2 separate regions of the Homo sapiens genome follow, and region 1 is linked to region 2. Evidence: promoter capture Hi-C in human tissues and cell types (Jung and others, 2019). All regions are on one chromosome and are shown on one strand. The core of a region is centred on a gene start or on the middle of the fragment in contact, and the rest is flanking DNA. Distances in the headings are between cores, read along the strand shown.

What was found. The method cuts DNA at HindIII sites, captures the fragments that hold promoters and counts their contacts. A contact is called where the count stands out against the background at its distance.
Region 1: a contact is called between the fragment with the promoter of PDCL3 here and the fragment with the promoter of MGAT4A in region 2, in 1 of the 25 tissues and cell types used here (mesenchymal stem cells).

Annotation. Positions count from the first base shown.
Region 1 is chr2:100,561,389-100,564,549 of GRCh38, reverse strand. It overlaps PDCL3 (phosducin like 3), which reads right to left and starts at 1,557. Exons shown (of 6, transcript NM_024065.5): 1 at 1,477-1,557. The coding sequence starts at 1,482. RefSeq lists a silencer at 1,231-1,570 and an enhancer at 2,016-2,812. The HindIII fragment of the contact is 15,730 bases long and covers 1-3,161 here.
Region 2 is chr2:98,729,434-98,732,516 of GRCh38, reverse strand. MGAT4A (alpha-1,3-mannosyl-glycoprotein 4-beta-N-acetylglucosaminyltransferase A) reads left to right here and starts at 1,385. Exons shown (of 16, transcript NM_012214.3): 1 at 1,385-1,469. It overlaps LOC107985922 (a long non-coding RNA gene), which reads right to left and starts at 1,236. Exons shown (of 2, transcript XR_007087150.1): 1 at 822-1,236. RefSeq lists silencers at 437-731, 838-1,027, 1,048-1,377. The HindIII fragment of the contact is 6,529 bases long and covers 1-3,083 here.

The DNA.
Region 1 (3,161 bases), core at 308-2,807, 1.8 Mb before region 2:
CCTAGGCGGGCAGATCACCAGGTCAGGAGATCGAGACAATTCTGGCTAACATGGTGAAACCTTGTCTCTACTAAAAATACAAAAAATTACCCGGGAGTGGTGACGGGCGCCTGTAGTCCCAGCTACTCAGGAGGCTGAGGCAGGAGAATGGCGTGAACTGGAGAGGCGGAGCTTGCAGTGAGCCGAGGTCGCGCCACTGCACTCCAGCCTGGGCGACAGAGCAAGACTCTGTCTCAAAAAGAAACAAACAAACAAACAAACAAAAAGAGCAGAATCCTTTCTACAGGGTGGTCAGGGAAGGCCTCAAGGGACCTGAAGGACAGGGAATGCAAAGGAGGCCAGGGCAGCCCTCAAGCTACCACTTCACCATTTAAGAGTGTCTAGGCCAGGTGCGGTGGCTCATCCTGTAATCCCAACACTTTGGGAGGCTGAGGCTGGGCAACATAGGGAGACCCCATCTGCACAAAAAATTAGCCCAGAGTGGTGGGTGCACGCCTGTGGTCCCAGCTACTCCGGAGGCTGACAAGGGAGGATGGCTTAGCCCCGGGAGGTCGAGGTTGCAGTGAGCTGTGACAGAGCCACTGCACTCCAGCCTGGGCAACAGAGCAAGACCCGGTCTCAAAAAAAAAAAAAACAGTGTCTGGCTCCTGGCAGACACGCCCTCCCCTCCAGCCCCTAATGCCTCCCTCCCCAGCAAAACCCGCACCCTCTCCTCTCCATCTGCCACTAAGCAGAGATTAGAATTTCTGACCACTGCGGGATCTTTGGACAGTGACAAAATTTAGTTGGCATAGGTTTTCACCCACAATAGTGCCCATTTCCATGGTGTTTTCATTCATTCTCCTTAGGCTTTAACCAAATTCCGCTAGTAAATTGCAGCTACAGAAAAATAATTTATTTTACCTATTTTAATAAAAAAAAAAAAAAGGACGAAACAGAGGGACCCTCGCGGGGAGCTCTGGAACCCGAGCGGTCAGATAGGGAACACGCCCCAAGCGGATCCCAGGGCTCGGGGGAAGAGGGTGTAACTAAGCCCTCACCTGGCTCTCAGTGGAGCCAGGAACACCGGCTGTGGCGCTGCTTTACGTGCGGAAGACCCCAGGCCGGACCCTCCGCTTCCTAACACCTCTGCCCAGGTGTGCCTTAGGGGAGTTCAGGAGAGGAGGTAACTTTTGTTAGGCGGGATCCGGCAAGACCTTCACAGGCCCGGGTGGGTAGAGACCGCGAGAAGACATAGTCCCGGAGGACGAGGTTTGGGGGACCCGGCACACCGAGGCGGGGACGCCCAGGCCGTGGGTCCTGGTGGGACCACGCCCGCCTCCCGCACTGCGCCTGCGCAGGGCCTGGACGCGCCGGGCCTCCCTCGTGCCTGCGGCGCCGGAGCTTCCCCCAGGGCGGGCGTCCACTGCCCGCCCGGGCCTAACGAGACAAAGGAACGGGCCGCAGCCCCCAGACCCGAGACCCGTCCTAGCTCACCTGCATCTTGTTTCCAGTTCAGTTGCTCAAACCAGCTGTGCCGCAGCGCCCCCGCCCCTCAGCTCTCTTTTGTGCACGCGCACAGCGCCGCCACGCCTCTTCCCCCAGCCCAGCCTTCGCCCCGCCCAGGGACGAGCGGCGGGGAGTAAGGGCGGAAGCAACAGCCTTGAGTCTGCGCCTGCTCTTCAAGGAACTGGCACAGAAGCGTTCGCATGCGCCAGATAGGATCTGCCTACTGTCCTGCTCGGAGTGCACTTGACCTGGTTCTAATTCTGGTGGCTGCCTTATTAGGGCTGGTCTTCAGCGGAGGAGGGGTGGGGCTGGGTGGAGGAGGAGCCCGGGGCCGTGTGCCTTTTCCAGCTGCCGGCCCAAACCTGTAAAGACGTCTCGCTCTGACTAGCCTAACAAGTCAGAAATAGAAAATTGCCTCTAGGCCGGGCGCGGTGGCACACGCCTGTGATCCCAGGCCGAGGCGGGCGGATCACTTGAGGTCAGGAGTTCGAGATCAGCCTGGCCAACATGGTGAAACCCCGTCTCTACTAAAAATACAAAAAAATTAGCCGGGCGTAGTGGTGGTTGCCTGTAATCCCAGCTACTCTGGAGGCTGAGGCAGAAGAATTGCTTGAACGGGGGAGGCGGAGCTTGCAGTGAGCTGAGATCTCTCCACTGCACTCCAGCCTGGGTTACAGAGCGAGACTCCGTCTTAAATAAATAAATAAATAAAAATGATGCAGGGTCTTCTGGAATTCACCCACGATCACTTCAGCCTTGGAAAAGGCAACTCATTAATAAGACATTGAGAGCCTGCTGTGTACCAGGCACCATTCTAGGCTCTGCAGATGCAGCAGTGAGCAAAACACTAAAACAAAGGTGAAAGTCATCTGCCGTGCCTGAGTATCAGGAGACCCATGTATGCAGGCACACAGGCACTGAGCAAAAAGCAGCAATCTGACTTGTAAAATGCAGGTATTGGGCTCCAGAGCTTCTGCCCAGGCACACTCCAAGTTTAAGAGAGCAATATTCCTACCTGGTATGGAAGGAAGCATCTTGCACACGTGGGCTAACTTGCTGCCTCCTGGCAACTAAGCGGACACAGAGAGTAGAGACCCACACACCTGTGAGATAGGCGCAGGGCTTCCAACCGTGGCTATGCATTAGAATCACCTGGAAGCCCTCAAAAACTAGGAATGTCCTGGGGCTCCATCCCCAGACAAATTAAATCCTTGGAAATGAGGCCTAGCACAGATACTTTCTTAAAGATCCTCAGGTGATGCTAAAGTGCACAGTCGTTGATATAGAGTGAATCAAATGATTGCTTGAGAGCAAGGAGTTTTTATTTAATTTATAAGGATCCTTAAGATTTTTCTCACTCATTTCAACTGAATTACAGGCCCTTTTAGGGATTTATTAATGTATCTGGCAGCACAATGTTTGTTAATGAATTTTCCTTGGGTCTTACCACCAAAATCAGGACTGGAACTAACTTTGAGTTTGATCCTGTGCTTCTTGCTCAGTCCTGCACAGCAACAGAGCAGGTGGTGTTTTGTCCTTTCCTCATCCCCAGCCTTTGCTGTTCCCTGAGGCCTGTTTTCCAGGACTCAGCTATTCTACAGTTGCTCTTCCCCACATGATCCGGTCAGAGGCATTCTAACCAAAGCCAATCCATCCTGAATAGGGGATGGGGA
Region 2 (3,083 bases), core at 136-2,635:
GTAAGAGACTATGGGAGCAGGGATGTTACGTGTCTCTTCCTGAAGTTTTAAATTAGCCGTCATGGAGAAACCTCAACATGGGAAGGCTGATAACTCCATGCATGTTCTAGCTGATTATTAATTATTCTTATCTTGAGATAAAAATAATGGAATTTATCGGAGGTGGGGAGGGGACCCTGTTCTGATTGATGCCTCTTAAGAGTTTTCGATTATTGAAATTACTGTTTTCTGAAAAGAATCTACTTATTACTTTGGGAGTTTGGCAGGAACAAGGCTGCCTCCTTGATCTTTGGCCCCTCAATTCCCTTACAGGTTACTCGGTAGGATTGCTGTAAGGATTATTGCGGCAATAAAGTTAACACATCCCTTGTTTTTGAACCATTACCAGCTGTGTGACCTTGGGCAAGCCCTTTCACCTCTCAGCTAGTTTCCTCTTATGAAAAATGGGGAATAAATTTAAAACATGAGATATGCAATAAACGATCTAACACCCATGCCTGCTATACGGTTGCCTGCTATACAGTTAAGTATTCAAAAGAGGACGTACCCAGGGGTAGTTACTGTTAGCACAAGTCCTATGGATACTATGAAAAACAGGGACAGACCACCCAGGCTTTCTACAAACGAGTCAGTTTTTTGCCTTTGAAGTTAACCTCTAACCTTGTGAAACGGCGACAGATAAGGACATGGGGTTCAAGAAAACGGGGCATAGTGGAAAATCAGGGGCATTAGCACCCAACGATGTGCGTTGAAACCCTAGTTGTTTTTCTCCTTCCCAGTTGCTGAAATCAGCCCTTCTGGCCGATTCGCGGGGTTCTCACCGGGAAGTTGGGGCTGTCGCGACCGTCCGCGGGGCCTCGGGAGCTCCTGTGGGGCTGGGCCCGGGACCTGTCCCCGGGGAGGCCGCCCAGTTTGGGCGGCCCGGAGCGGGGCGCGCCGCTGGGAAGGGGCCGGGTCGAGGCAGGCAGGCGCCTGGGAGCTGGGGCAGCCCCGGGTGGTCGGGTCGCGCGCCGAGGCGCAGGCCGAGGGCTCGCCCGGGCCTTTGTTGGCCGCCGGAGCGGTCCCTGCACGCGCCGGGAGGATCTCAGCCAGATGTGGCAGCGGGGCGGCGGGGAGCAGGCCGGCGCCCAGAGCTGGGACCCGAGACCGCGGCTCCGCTCCGGACCTCGCCGTGACACCGATGAGCCGGGCCAGCCTCCCGAACGCTCCGCAGGCTGCGTGGCGGCGCCCCTAAGTGACAGTCGCGCGGGCCACTGGTGGGGCGCGGGGCGCGGGGCGCGGGGCCCGCGGGGCCGGCCAATGGCTGGCGGGGTCGGGGCGGCCCGGCGGGGCGGGGCGGGGCGGGCGCTCCAGCGGCGGGGGCGGAGCCGGCGGGGCGGGCGGGGCGGCCCGCAGCGGCGGCGGCAGCGGCGGCGGCGGCTACAGCAGCTCCGCCGGCAGCCGCGGGAGCACGGCGACGCCAGCGGCGGGTGAGGGGCTCGCGGCGGCAGCGGCGGCGCGCGGGGGCGGGAGGGGGCGCGGGGCGGCTGCGCGGAGGGCGCGGGAGTTGGGGGCGGCGCCGGCGGCCGGGCTGGCGGCCCCGGGCTGCGGGAGATCCACCTGCTGGTAAAGGAGCCTACTGCGCCGCGGCCCGGCCGGAGCTCTGTGCGGGGGAGCTGTTGGCGCCTCTGGGCGCGGGGCCGGCTCCGGGAGCGGCTGGGCCTCGGGGGCGGGCGGCGGGGCGCGGGCCGGGCCGTCCTCCCAGCGTCCCTGCCCCGCACCGCGCACCCCTCGGGGTCGCGCGCCCTCTCTGCGGCCGGCTCGGCGCCTGGTGCGTTCCTGGCGCTCCCCGGCGTGGCGGGGCTCGGCGACTTTGGGGGAAAGTGGAGCAAAGTGCTGATCCGGGGGGTGCGGAGGGGGAGGGACAGCTGCCTGTGGGACCCGGGGGCTGCGCGGGAGTCGGCGCTTTCGCGGGGGCCGCGGGGCAGGTGGGCGGGGCCGGACGGTCCGAGGCGCAGGGGCAGGGGCTGCTCCCGAGGGGACCGGCCGTGCAGCCTTCGCAGGGAATTTTCACACAAAGTGAAGGGCTGCGGGGCCCGCGTGAAAGAGCAGCCCCCGTTTCCCCAGGCCTCAGCTCTCTCCGTAATGAGGAAGCTGCAGTAGGACCCTGAGGCTGGGTCTCGGTGACTCCACCAAGTGTGCCAGGTGACATCTCGGAGGCGAGCTTTTCTGAGCTGGCAGTCGAGCCACTTGCACACCCGCCTTTATTCCTCGCAACAGTGTGTTTCTCTGGAGCGGTTTCATTGCCTACATTCCGCATTGGAAAATAGAAGCAGGCACAATGTATGCTTTGAATGCTTTCCACGTATTTTGCTGTTGTGCTTTTGCTGTTGGACAGATTATTTGATAAAAGATAATGACAGTCGTTCGTTGGAACGTAGACTGTAAATTTAGAATAAAAATATGCGTTTTGTGGTTTATGTTTCTTTTTCTGAATGTTTAAAAAACAGTTTGATGAACAGGTTATCTTGACATAGATTTCTTTAACCCACACGTGTAAACCCGAAAACGCACTGGGCGATGACATTACGTAAGCTGTATTAAAGAAAACTACTGACCCGTTTATAAATGGCAAATAAATGAATTTTGCCACAATTGTGGTGTGTAAAGTTATATAGGCTTACGTCATGGATTTTATTGATTCCAGATATCAGGGATTATTGTGCCTTTCATTCTTAAGTCACCTCTACCCTGTCTGTGGGATGCTGATTAAGGAAGATGCCAAACGTTCGGCAAAGTGTTCTCAGCCGTGGACTATATTGAGTATTTCAGAGAACACTTTAAAATAAGTAAAGGTTTTGTATCCAATAATAAAATGAAGACTGAAGCCCTTAAAGGATTGCTAACAAAACAGTCTGATGTCTAGAGTTGAAAGTTCCATTCACCTTTGGGAGGGTGGAGAAATGACTAGCAATTTTAGCCACTACCTTTTTTTGTTGTTGTTAAAGATTCAAACGTGTTAGATTATAGTCTCCGAGAATATTAAGGGGCTAGATTAAAATTTTTGCAAATGTGGACACTAATAAAAATGTGGGTCACCTGTG